Linked DNA regions of Homo sapiens: all the other regions are linked to region 2. The links are contacts of gene promoters, found by promoter capture Hi-C in blood cells and fetal thymus (Javierre and others, 2016). All regions are on one chromosome and are shown on one strand. Each heading gives the region's core, a stretch centred on a gene start or on the middle of the fragment in contact. The rest is flanking DNA. Distances are from core to core; before and after follow the strand shown.

Region 1 (4,203 bases), core at 431-2,930, 190 kb after region 2:
ATAAGACAGGCATTCAGAAGGGTTAATGGAATTGATCCTTTTGATAATGTCTATTTACTAAAAGAACAGAGATTGTCTTATTTTTATGTACTCTATATATGTAACTTTTATGTACATTTGAGATTAATTGCTATGAAATGAAGTACACCATTTTCCTCTTCTTGACTTTCATATAAATGACATCATGGAGTATGTACTTTATTGTGTCTGGGTTCTTTTGCTAAGCTTAATATTTGTGAGATTCACTTATGTCATTCTGTATATTTTTCATTACTGTGTAGTATTCCATTGTATAAATAGGCTAGGGTTTATTTACCTATTCTTCTGTTGGTGGACATTTGGATTGTTCCCAATTTTTGGTTATTATGAAAAAAGCTGCTATGAACATTCTTGTACATGTCTTCTAGTAGACACAGGCTTCATTTCTCTTGGATATACACTTAAGAGTGGGATTGCTGGGTCAAAAGATAGTTATGTGTTTAGCATTGCTACATAATGCCAAACAGCTTTCCAGGACTTGTAGGGATTTATACTGTCACCATCAATATGAGAGTTTCAGTTTCTTGACATCTTAACCAATAATTCGTATCATCGGTCTTTAAATTTAGCCATTCTGATGAGTATATAGTGTTATTTCATTGTGGTTTTAATTTCCATTTCCGTTATGAGTAATAATGCTGAGTACTTTTCCATATGTTTATTAGACAATTAGGTATTTGAATATCCTCCTTTGCCATGTGTCTGTTCATGTCTTTTGACTTTTCTTGTTTCTTCATTTTTAGAGACAGAATCTTACTCTGTTGCCCAGGCTGGAGTGCAGTAGAGCAGTCATAGCTCACTACAGCCTAAAACTCCTGGGCTCAAGTGATCCTCCTTCCTCTGACTCCCAAGTAGCTAGAACTACAGGTGCTTGTGTGCCACCACACCAACTAATTTCTTTGCTCATTTATTATTTAGGTGTCTTTTTTCTTATTGATTTATAGGAATTCTTTATACATTCTGGATGTAAGTCTTCTGTTGGATATATGCATTGCAAATATTTTCTCCCAGGCTATGGCTTGCATTTTCACTCCTTTAATGGTGTCTGACTTTTGATGAGTAGAAGTTCTTAATTTTAGTGATGTCCAATTAATTAACGTTTTACAGTTAGTGCTTTTTGTGTCCTATTTAATCTCTGCTTAATCCAAGTTCATGAAGATATTATTCTGTGTTTCTTCTAGAAGCTTTATTTTTTCATCCTTCACATGTAATTTTTACTATCAATCTCAAAATAATATTTGTGTCTGATGTAGAAGGCAAAGTTCTTTTTTCCATATGGATATACAATTGCTATAAAACCATTACTGAAAAGATTCTACTTTTGCCTTTGTGTTGTTATTGCATATCAAGTAACTGTATGTATGTGGGTATATTTCTAGGCTTTCTAGTTTATTTTGTTGATGTATTTGCCTGTCCTCAGGCCAGTACCACACTGTATGAATCACTGTGGCTTTATAGCAAATCTTGAAATTTGGTTGTGTAAATCCTTCAACTTTGTGTTTTTCTTCAGGGTTGTCTTGATTATTCTAGGCCATTTGCATTTCCATGAAAATATTATGAATTTCCACAAAAAAATCTACTAGAATTTGATTGGAATTTCATTGAATCTGTAGGTCAATTTGGGAAGAACTGACATCTTAACACTTGAATATCTAATTCAATTTAGCAAGGTTACTGGATAAATCTATGTATATTCCACTATGTTGTCTGATTAAAAACAGTGTCACTTCTTCATTTCCAACCTTTATATATATTTTTTTCTTGCCTTAATGAACTGGTTATTTCCTCCAACATAATGCTTAATACTAGTGGTGATAGTGGGCATTCTTGTCTTATTTCTGGCCTTGGGGGTAAGGAGATCACTATTTTACCATTTATGTAATGTTAACCTTAAGAATTTTATAGGTACTCTTGATCAGATTAAGGAAGTTCCCATCTTATCCTAGTTTACTAAGAGATTTTATCATGCATAACTTGAATTTTGTCAAATGCTTTTTCTGCATATATTGAGGTGATATTATGATTTTTCTCTTTTATTTTGTTAATTTGGTGAATTACTTTGATCAATTATTGAATAATAATCAGTTTTATAGTTTCGTAAAGCTTCACTTGGTCAATGTATAATCTTGTTTCTTTATCAATAGATTCAATTTATTAATGTTATCTTGTTTGGGATTGTAATGTCTTTGCTCTTAAAACATAGTGGCCTATAATAGTCCTTTCTTAGAATGTCCTTGGCAGTTTTTGATATTAGAATTATGCTGGCCTCATAAAACCCCCAAATTTGGAATTGTTTCCTCATTCTTCTTGAAAAGTATATTAATTTTCCCTTAAGTATTCAGAAAAATTTATCAACAAAGCCATCCGAACGTACAGTTTTGCTCTGTTTTCTGGGGTGGGGCAGGCTTTTAATTACAGATTTGGTTTTTAAAATCAATATAGGATTACTTATTTTTCCTATTTCCTCTTGCGTCAGTTTAAATAATTTACATTTCTCAAGGAATTTGTTCATTTCAACAATGTTGTAAAATTTTTTGGCATTTTGTTTTTAAAATTTAGGATCTGTAGTTATACTTCTTTTAAAGTTCCTGACATAGGTAATTTGTGATTTTTTTTCCTTCTTAATTTTATAGTCAGAATTTATCAATTTTATTGCTCTTTCCAATAAAACAATTTTTTGTGTTATTCATATTTTGTTTCTACCTCCATTTCTATTTCATTGATTTCTCCTTTTTTCTTTATTTCCAGTCTTTTTGTTTTTTGGTTTGTTTCATTTGTATTTCTTTTTCTTGCTTCTTGAGATGGAAACCCGGTCTGGGTTGTATACCATGATGGTACACAAAATAGTACAAGGAGTTGATTTTATATTATACTGAATCACATACTAAGAAATGTATTCTTTTAAATTATCTTTCAGTCCTTCTAATTAAATCAAGAAGAGTTTCCACTTGAAAGTTTTAACAGTTCTCTAATTCTTGCCTATCTTGCTATTTTTCTTGTTTAAACAGAGAACAGGCCCAGGCTCAGAGCTTTTATCAAGCCCCAGGATGGAGCTAAAAGTTAACAACATTGTTTGGTTTGCATGGCACTAATTTTCAAGTTAGTTTCTGTTTATGGCAAATACTCCTGGTTTTCTACCCATGGGAATGATATAAGATCTCTTTTTAAAATATATGTATCTAAGTAAAAGACAAATTAGTTTAAAGAAAACTATTAATATGTTGAGGCAAGTACAGTGAAAGGATACTTGAATGACTGCGTTTGGAACATGCAATTCAATACTATTGCAAGGTGTTTGTTATTATCTTCCAAAAAGCTTCTATTCCAGATTATAGTATTCCAGTGCCTTCTCTGCCTTTGATACAGAAACCATTGGCCCCTCAGGGAGACAAACCTTTATTTGGTTTTAAAATCATATCTTTTTCCTTGGGCATTTCTTCAGGTGTAGAGCACACAACTGAAACCAGCAATGAGAGCTGTTTAAAGTTTTTTTGTAGTATTCGTTTTTCCTTAGGGCTTTTATTTTTTTATTTTTATTTTTATTTTATTTATTTATTTATTTTTTTTTTTTTTTGAGTCGGAGTTTCACTCTTGTTGCCCAGGCCGGAGTGCAATGGCATGATCTCTGCTCACTGCAACCTCCGCCTCCCAGGTTTAAGCAATTCTCCTGCCTCAGCCTCCCGAGTAGCTGGGATTACAGGCATGTGCCACCATGCCTGGCTAATTTTATATTTTTAGTAGAGACGGGGTTTCTCCATGTTGGTCAGGCTGGTATCGAACTCCTGACCTCAGGTGATCCACCCGCCTTGGCCTCCCAAAGTGCTGGGATTACAGGCGTGAGCCACTGCACCTGGCCCTTTTCTCCCTTTTTTAAAATTGAGATGGGCGGGGTCTCACTATGTTACAAATATTGTAAGATGTTAATTGTAGAATCTAGGTGGTAGATACATCTGTGCTCACTGTAAGTTTCTTTCAACTTCTATATATGATTGAAAATTTTTATAACAAGAGATTGGGAAAAAATCTAACCCATTTTGTGTTTTCCAAAGGAAGCATGTAGAAAATAGGACTTTTCAGATCTGCATGCAGTGGTGGTGAAATGGTCTATTTGGGTCCCTAAACAGCGTCCAGCACATCATGAAGGTTCATTGATTGCTGCTGTGT
Region 2 (4,106 bases), core at 878-3,377:
TTAATGATGTCGTCTCTTAACCAAGACCAGTCTATACAAAGAAACTGTAAAGAGTTGACAGTTGACACTAGACAAAGTGCAAACTTAAAGAGTTATTTATAAACTGTATTAAGTCAGCTGGTGCCTGAAAGTGTTCACGTAATGGTAAAAATTCAGCTATCAACTCTGAACAAAGCTGGTCTATCATATTCAGTCCCATTACAGTAAATCATGTTTCATCAAATTTAAAGTTGCTTCAAAGTCTCCCAAAATAAAGCCTGTTCTTTGATGTGTTCACTTCTCTGCTTAGAGTAACTAGAAATATACGTGATGAGATGGACTTCAACCCCTGGACATCAGTGCTTTTCCAAATTCATATTTCCCTCCTATTTTTCTAGCCACGACTCCCGTTTCTTTCCAACTTCCCTTCCCCTCCCATCTCAGTAATCAGTTTTCTTTCTGGGCAAACGCAAAGTGGATTCTGTCTACAGCACTGCGGTAGGCAATAGTAAAACAGAAAAAATGGAGGGAGATTGGGAAAGAAACTGAGGTAGCCACCAGAACCGGAAAGGAGAAAACGTGCATTCTAACATTCCATGAATAAGAAGGAAGGCGTCGCCCCCATCAGAACTGCAGAGTCATAGCAGGCCCCAGCCATTTCCAAGCACACTCCCGCAATCTTCCTAGTCAGACAGCGGGAACTCACACACAAAGACAAGAGGACTGCAGGAAAAAAGTTGATGACCAGATGCCAATTCCCTACAAGAATTGTAGTCCACTGCGGGTATACGAGACCTTAAAGTACTACTATCAAGGACTGAGTTCTAAAGTTAGACTTTAAACCATGTTAAGTGGTAAAAGAATAATTAGCACCCTTAATAGGGGACCTGAATTTTGGTGCTTAATGGAAAGGGAGCGTGGTGCTAAGAAATAAAGAGAATGGTCTCGTATTTAGTACAATTATCATAATTTTAGAAACAGCCTTGGGCAGAAACAGGCAAAACAATAAGCTGGAGGTTTTGTGGCAAATATTCTCCAAACATATTGCAACCAACTCAAAACCATCAAGTCTCAAGAAAATCAGGCAATGTGAAGCATAAAACTGCATTAGTTCCTTTACTGCCACCACTAAAGAGGGAGGGACTTAGAGAAGTGAAGTGTGCTCCTGGTCTTCGCAGATAATTGAAAGCCCCCGAAAAGCACCCCTTTTTTGAGCTATGTTGCATAACTGGGGATAACCGTATATCGATGAATCTCCATATGAGAAGAGAAATCAATGGCAGTTCGCCATCTTGGAGAATTTAAAAAAAAAAAAAAAACAACCTATAGAGCTAGAGCTGAAGTCGAGATTCACGAATCCACCTACGCGGTCGGCGTACATCTCTCGCAAGCCCCAGAGGCCTGGACATCGGTAAACCTACGCAAAGTCGCTTCGAGAATCCCGGGGGCCGGGCCGGGGCCGCCGCCTCCCACAGCCGGAGGCGCGGGAGGCGCGCTGTCCGCGGAGCAAGAGCCGGCCAGAGAGCCTAGGGACCTCCACCCGGGGCCCGCGCGCCCCAGCCCGGATCCCCGACCCCCGCTTCCACCCCAGAACGTGCATAGCAAACCTCAGGGCTTCAAGAGAACCTAGGGGAACCGCACTAGGAGGAAAAAAGGAACCCCTCCCCTTGCCCTGGCCGGTGCGTGCCCCCTCCCCCAACCCGGGCACCTGGACCGACGCTGGGAACGCCGGGGGCGCCCGGCCAGGGCCAGCAAGGAGTCCGGCCGCCGCCCCCAGCCTGTCAGCGCAGCCCCGGGTGAGGGGGCGTCCCCGGGCCTCGGCCTCCCCGCCCGCCCGGCAGCCGCATCCTCGGCGCCCGCTGCCTAGCACACCTGCGGGCTCGGCCCTCAGTGTTCCAGCCCCGCGCTGCGGTGCCCCCGCGGCCGGCCACCCCGCTCCGGTGCAGGGACCAGGGTACCGGCCGCCACTGGTCCTCACCGTAATGCTCTGAAAGACGCCCCCGGCCGTGGCTGCCCAGACGTATTTGGCGTCGCAGTAGCCGACAATGGCGGCCTCCTGGCAGCAGCCATCGCACATCAGGTTATCCACGTAGCTCTGCCAACCGGCCATCTTCGAGCCCTTCGCACTGCAGCGCGGACGGCGAGGAGCAGCAGGCGCAGCGGCGGCGGCGGCGGTAGCGGGCGGCGGCGGCGCGGGGGGAGGCGGGGCGGGGGCGGGGAGGAGGCGGCTCTGCGCAGGCACCGACCGCCCCCCTCCCCGAGGAGCTGCGGCGGGAGGACGCGGGTTCAGCGATGAGGGACGAACCTCAGAGCGCGCTCGGCCGCCCGGCCGCCCGCAGCCGCGGGGCTGACAAACCAGCGGCGGGAGGCTGCGAAGCGGCTGTGCCTGTGGCGGCTGCTCCTTACCGCAGCGCCCTCCGTTTTCCGCGGACACGGCTGGGCGTGCGCGCGCGCGTGCGTGCGATCCTTCCGCGGCGCCCGGGCACGGAGGGTCCCGGGAAGGGCGGGGGGAGACTGAGGCGGGGGCGCGGAGGGATACCGCCCCGGGACAATCACGGCCGCCACGTGCGGGAGGCGCCGGCCGGGAGCGGTGGCGGGCCGAGCTTCGGACCTCGGGCCGGCGGAGAGGGTGGACCCCGCGTCGCTCTCGGCACCCCAGGAACAGCGGCGGCACGGACGCCTTGGAGCCCCGCGGCCGGGCCGCGATGTGCTTTTCTCCTGTGTTCGCTGCCCGGGATGCGGAATCTTGAGCCTCGGTGTCGGGTTACAGAGTTGTCCTGGTGACGGGATGCGGAGCGTTTCCTCCTTTTTGTTGTGGGGGCGGCTGGTGGCAGGGGCAGCTGGTGGCAGGGTTGCCCACGCTAATCTCCGAGTCTCTAAGGGCACCGTCTTTCCTGGATCCCTCTTGCGCCTCGTCCATAAAGGCAGACCCGCGGGCGCGCGCCGGCAACCTGAAATCAGAGCAGGCGTCCGTGGCGCTCAGGAACCTTGCTGAGCTTCGCCGATCTTTCATTGTTGCTTCATTTGGGTACCAAGGGCCTCTCATTCTGTGGATTCTTTGCCTGGAGGAGCCCCCTTAATGTTGCTAATCACGTGTGGTTAAATTGCTCGTAAATTCCGAACAAAACAAATAGCGACCTGTGTTACACTGTTTCTTGGTAACTGGGAAAGTTACTGGTGGCTTGAAGTATACGCAGAAAATACAAAGATTAAAAACTAGGGAAGAGTTCACTGAATGAACACCGTAACATTTCTGCTCTGCAGGGTAAAATAATTTCGGGACCCAGGTCTGGGAAAGATTTGTATTAACAAGGTAAACGGTGGGTAGAGTGCCTGAGAAGCTATTCGTATCGTCTTTGGTAGCCTCTGGGCACTAGGACTAGACATGGAATTAGGGGTCCCCCAACAATGACTTCAATTTTAGGTTAATAGAAACCATCTGCCACTTAAGGGAAAGAAAGCACCAAAATGTAGATAAGTTGATGTTCACCCTTAAAGTTATCGTGTGAGGTCATGATTTGTAGGAGGATTAAGGAATGTATCTCTGGAAAGGGCAAGAACGTTGCTTTTAAAAGTCTAATTGGTTCTGAAGTTTTATATTTTTTCTGCTGATTGCTTTAAAATGTTCAGCTACTAGAGAGAAAAAAAGTACAGTAAAAGAAACCCCCAAGTCAGAGACCTATCAGACTGAGAATATGTATTTTCTCATGTTCTAAAGATACAGAATACCTGTGTGGTGTAAAATGTGAACCAAAAATTGTTTCATTTTTGTAAGTGTGCCTCCCACCTGATTTAATTACACTTAATTGTTCTTGTTTATGACTCTGCCTTTTATGGTGATGTTGATCATTTTAGTCCTTCGATCATAGCACTGTATCATCTTAAAAGTTAATAATAGATTACTTGTAACACAGGCTCACTATGTGAGAATTCATCAAGCTGTATGTACATTTATTGTGCTCTTCATTGTATGTATAATTCAATAAATTGAAACAGTAAACGAAAAGGTAATTATAGAAAAAATACAGTGATAACTTGAAGTATGTTGAATTTTTATTAATTTACTCTGAAGGTTTTAAGATATAATTTCTAGACGTTACTATCTTATTGTTATAGCACAGAGTTGG
Region 3 (4,229 bases), core at 952-3,451, 230 kb after region 2:
GAAGATGAAAACCCAGGACTCCTCATGGGAGGCTCCTGTGGGCCAGGTTCTTTATACCATCCTAGCCACCACCTTAGGTCACCATATATTTTCAAATATTTCTTTTCATAGTAATCTCCTCTTGTGTGTCCGGTAACCATTTTATCAGGGCTCTGGACATATTGCCCCAAAATATGACCAGAGGAGACCAGAATATGCCACCCCAAAATATACTTTTAAGATCTATTTTGAGCTAGTTATCCTGAGAGACACCAGACATGGGAGTAGCTCTGAAAAGCTGCCCTTTTGTAATAGAAATGTTTATCAATAAAGGAAACCTACATTAGTAAAAGTATCTGCATCAGAAAGAAGGCTGCTTTTAAAGACAACTTTTTTACCTGAGAAACTTCTTGTCTTGTAACAAGACAATCTTTATTTACCATACATTTCTTCCACTCACCAACCCCCCGATAACTTGTCTCCATCACCCCCAGATGCCCCCAGTCCTTATTCCTTTCCATAGCTCAGGATAGTATGCAAGCTTCAATCACCTGGCCCTTCTTTGAGTCTCATATTGTGTGGGACTCTTGTGCTTATGCACATAATTAAATATGTTTTTTTTTTTCTCCTGTTAATATGTCTTATGTTAATGCATAGCCTGGCCAAAGAACCTGAAAAGGTGAAGGGAGGCCATTTTTCCCTCCACTACAACCTCAAACTTAACACAAGAGGACCTTCCTGGTTAACGTTTGTCATTCCATTCCCAGTGCCTAGACTACTGCCTGGCACTATGTAGACCATCTGTCTACCTGCAAGAATCATAGAGACTTGAATACAAGGTCTACTCTCAGAGGGAGAGCTGTCTATTATAGGCCTGTAGATCAAACTTTGTGAAAGTAACTTTGTAACCCATTGCCCCTGTGGTGGATTAACGATGGCCACAAATTCTTTGACAATACTCCCATCAGGAGTAGATCTAAGTTTCCTTGCCCCAGAACCTAGATAGGCCCGTAACTGCTTTGGCCAATACAATACAGCAGAAGCAATGCAGTACCTATTTCCAGGCCCAGGTGTGAGAAACTGGAAACTTCTACCCCTTTGGAACTCTTTCTCTCTGGGTACCCTGAGCTACCAGGTAATGTCTGACCAGCCTAAGACCATCGTGCCAGAGAAGCCACGTGTAAGCACTCCAGTTGACAGAATCCACTGAGCCCTGTTTTGTAGGCTTCCCTGTCAAGGCACCAGACATGTGAGTAAAGCTATCTCGGACCTTCCAGACCAGCCCATCCACCAGCTGAACACCACCCAGTGATCTCAGTCAATGACAGAGGGAGCAGAAGAATTGCCCACTGACATTGCCTGAATTCCTGACCCACCAAGCCAAGAGATATGGTGAAATGGTTGCTACCTTAAGCTGTAAGTTTTAGAGTAATTTGTTATGTAGTTAACAGATAACCAGAATAGGCCCCAACAACAACAAAACAAAAACAAACAAACAAAAGTCTATGCCCTTATGGAAGGTCTCAATTAATAATGTGTTTGACTGTAAATAACAGAAAACCCCGTTTAGTGGCTTAACCAGATAACAGACCTCCAGAGCTGGGCAGCCTAGAATTGGTACAGCTTCCCCACGTTGCCCCCAGAGACTCAATCTCCTTCTGTCTTCCTGCCTGCATCCTCAGGGGATGACTACTCTGCCTGTAGCCAGGCAGCAGGGTTGAAGACAGTAAAAAGAGGCAAGGGCAAGACAGTACTTCTTTTGAAAAGTTTTTCTAGAGGTTTCAGTCAATTACTTTCCCTTACATTTCATTGGCAAGATTTGGGTAACAAGGGCCACCTCTAGCTGCAAAGGAGTCTGAGAAGACAGGTGCTTTTAGCACAGCACATCGTCACCCACATGGTAACTGGGATTCTGTTAGAAAGGAAGAATGGCTATTACCTAAGCAATTAGTGTCTGCTGCAGGAATTCTTCCTGTCCTGGGACCTCAAACTGAGCAGTGGCTGCTTGCTGCTTAGCTCCTGCTTGCTGAGTTCCTACAGAGAAATGGTTCAGAGCATAAATCTCGCTGGAAGGGTAGGAAAGGGGGCTTATCTTGAAGTCGAATTTTCATGGAAAATGCACTGTTTTTTGCTTACTTGTATGTTCACTGGGGATGGCTTAGGGAAGCCTATAGAAGTTCTTTTGGAGGGGAGCACCTCCTCTTCCCCCACCAAGTACCCCTTGAAGCTGACATTGTCTTCTTGGGCGGGGAAGCACCAACAGTCATAGTTACTCTAAGGCATAATTTGAAATTTGCTCTTCACAAATATAAAAGGCCTTAATAACTAGGTCAAAGCGTAACAATCATTGCTGTATGTCTTTGCATGACAAATGAACAAAGATGCAAAAATTTCAATAGCACCCATATATACAAAAACTCATTACAAAAATGGAGACTTGTCATGTTTGGAACAAGAATTAAAAAAAAAAAAAAAAACTCATCTGAAATCCAAATACCTCACAAGCACTTGAATGTGTAACATGGCCTAAATGTTAATGAAGCAATTCGGCTCACTCAGCAGGATGAGCACAAAAGAAACCCTTTTCAAGACACAGCTGTCAACAATTACACTTGGTGGGGTGAAGCTGGCTGATATTCAGCATCTTAAAACTCATGGAAATGTGGAGTCTATTTGACCAAAAACCATTCCAGACTCCAGGGAAGACAGTAAACCCCTGTTTATTTGGCAGTCCAGAGAAAGGAGAATGGGATATTCTAGTTAGCCAGGCATCCCCACCCAGCTCAGAAATAAATAACAAGGTTTTTTTGTTTTATTTGTTTTTGTTTTTAAGATTCAAAGTGATACAGAAAGCACGTAAGGATGATATGGGAGCTAACCTACCCTTTCATTGATGCGGAGGTTTGGATGGCATGCGGACGGTCTGGATGGCATGCGGACGGTCTGGCAGGGCCTCAACGATTTCCTAATTGTCAAGGAGAACTTTTTTTTAAATTTTAACTTTCTGGTTATCTATGTTTTTGTAAAGAGAAGTTCATTTTACTCTATTATGACGATTAAGCGAAGAGAGCCTCCATTCTGGCTGAGGAGTGCTCTTCAGAGAATTACTCCTCTTACCCCAGCACACGCCCACACGAAACTAGCAGACAGATTTGTACATAGTGGCTCTTTGACCACAGAGAGTCAGACCAGCATTAAGTCCTCACCAAAGTGAGGTAATCAGATTCTCCTTATTGGAAGGTTGAGGGGTCTGAATTCAGAGAAGCCCTACTATATATACCAGTTTCCTTGAGCAGAGAATATGTGAATTTGGGATGCAAAGTGACCATTTTTTACCTTGTGCAAAGAGAAGGAAAGGGTCAGATGGAGAAAAAGAAAAGTAGGAGGTGAGTGTGCTGAGTGAAGAACAGAAGAGAAACAACATAGCCTGAGAAGGAGACTTCCCAGAGTGGCCACCTGGGTTTCCAATAGCCTCTAGTTTCTAGTTCTTGCTTCCCATGAGGCATGACTGTACTTCTTGTCCTGTTTCCCTGGGGCTCCCATGTATCCTTCCTGTTTGACATAAACTGGTTTGAATGATTTGGCAACTGCTATCTGCTGTTTCTCCAATCTTTATTCTCCCCTTCTTCCTGACTAGTTGAAACCCAGTTTTATTCAGAGCAGGTAAAAAGACCACAAAATTGGAGGTCACTGGAATTTTCAAGAAGTTTCTTAAAGAGGGTAGACTAAGTTAGAAGGCATGCCATTTTGCCCTTTCTCTTTCCTTCTCATTGTGTGGAAAGCAGGCATGATTGCTGGAGTTCCAGCAGCCACTTGTGATCATATGGCAACCATAAGGAGTGAAGCCAGTGCTAAGGATGATGGAGCAGAGGAACAAAAGGACCTAGGCCCCTGGCAACAAGGTAAAGCTTTCTTGTGAACCCAAGACTGTCACCTTCCATGTGTTATGTTATGTGCAGAAAAACAGACTTCTAATTTGCTGGAGTCACTAGGGTTTTTATTAGTAGCAGCCAGATGCAATTCTAAATGTCACCAATGGCTGTTAGTTCCTTGCTGCCAATCCTGAACACAGTTTCACATATCTTATTACAAATTCTACCAAATATTCCCATGGATGTTGTGAGCAGTGGCTGCATCATGTGCTATCCATATGAAACACTCTTCAAAGAACAAAGGAAGATAATGCAGTTTCTGTACCATCTGCAGCTTCTTGGTTCAGTGCTGGTGGATGTGACCTAGGAGGCTTGTGA

Evidence for each region. Contacts are between HindIII fragments. The CHiCAGO score rates a contact against its expected background, and 5 or more counts as called.
Region 1: a contact is called between a fragment that was not itself captured here and the fragment with the promoter of PFN2 in region 2, in 1 of 17 cell types (megakaryocytes). The highest score is 6.2, in megakaryocytes.
Region 3: a fragment that was not itself captured here is called in contact with the fragment with the promoter of PFN2 in region 2 in 10 of 17 cell types (megakaryocytes, endothelial precursors, erythroblasts and 7 more); the score reaches 13.6 in megakaryocytes.

What each region holds. Positions count from the first base shown.
Region 1 is chr3:150,160,669-150,164,871 of GRCh38, forward strand. No RefSeq gene overlaps it. Among named protein-coding and RNA genes, the nearest start is that of LINC01213, 76 kb to the right of the region's middle. The HindIII fragment of the contact is 919 bases long and covers 1,222-2,140 here.
Region 2 is chr3:149,968,768-149,972,873 of GRCh38, forward strand. It overlaps PFN2 (profilin 2), which reads right to left and starts at 2,128. Exons shown (of 3, transcript NM_053024.4): 1 at 1,958-2,128. The coding sequence starts at 2,089. It overlaps LOC646903 (a long non-coding RNA gene), which reads left to right and starts at 2,512. Exons shown (of 1, transcript NR_036538.1): 1 at 2,512-4,106. RefSeq lists silencers at 1,324-1,583, 1,604-1,653, 1,664-1,903, 2,114-2,193, 2,424-2,483 and enhancers at 2,329-2,860, 2,861-3,391. The HindIII fragment of the contact is 10,546 bases long and covers 1-4,106 here.
Region 3 is chr3:150,200,336-150,204,564 of GRCh38, forward strand. No RefSeq gene overlaps it. Among named protein-coding and RNA genes, the nearest start is that of LINC01213, 36 kb to the right of the region's middle. RefSeq lists an enhancer at 2,333-2,834. The HindIII fragment of the contact is 3,367 bases long and covers 519-3,885 here.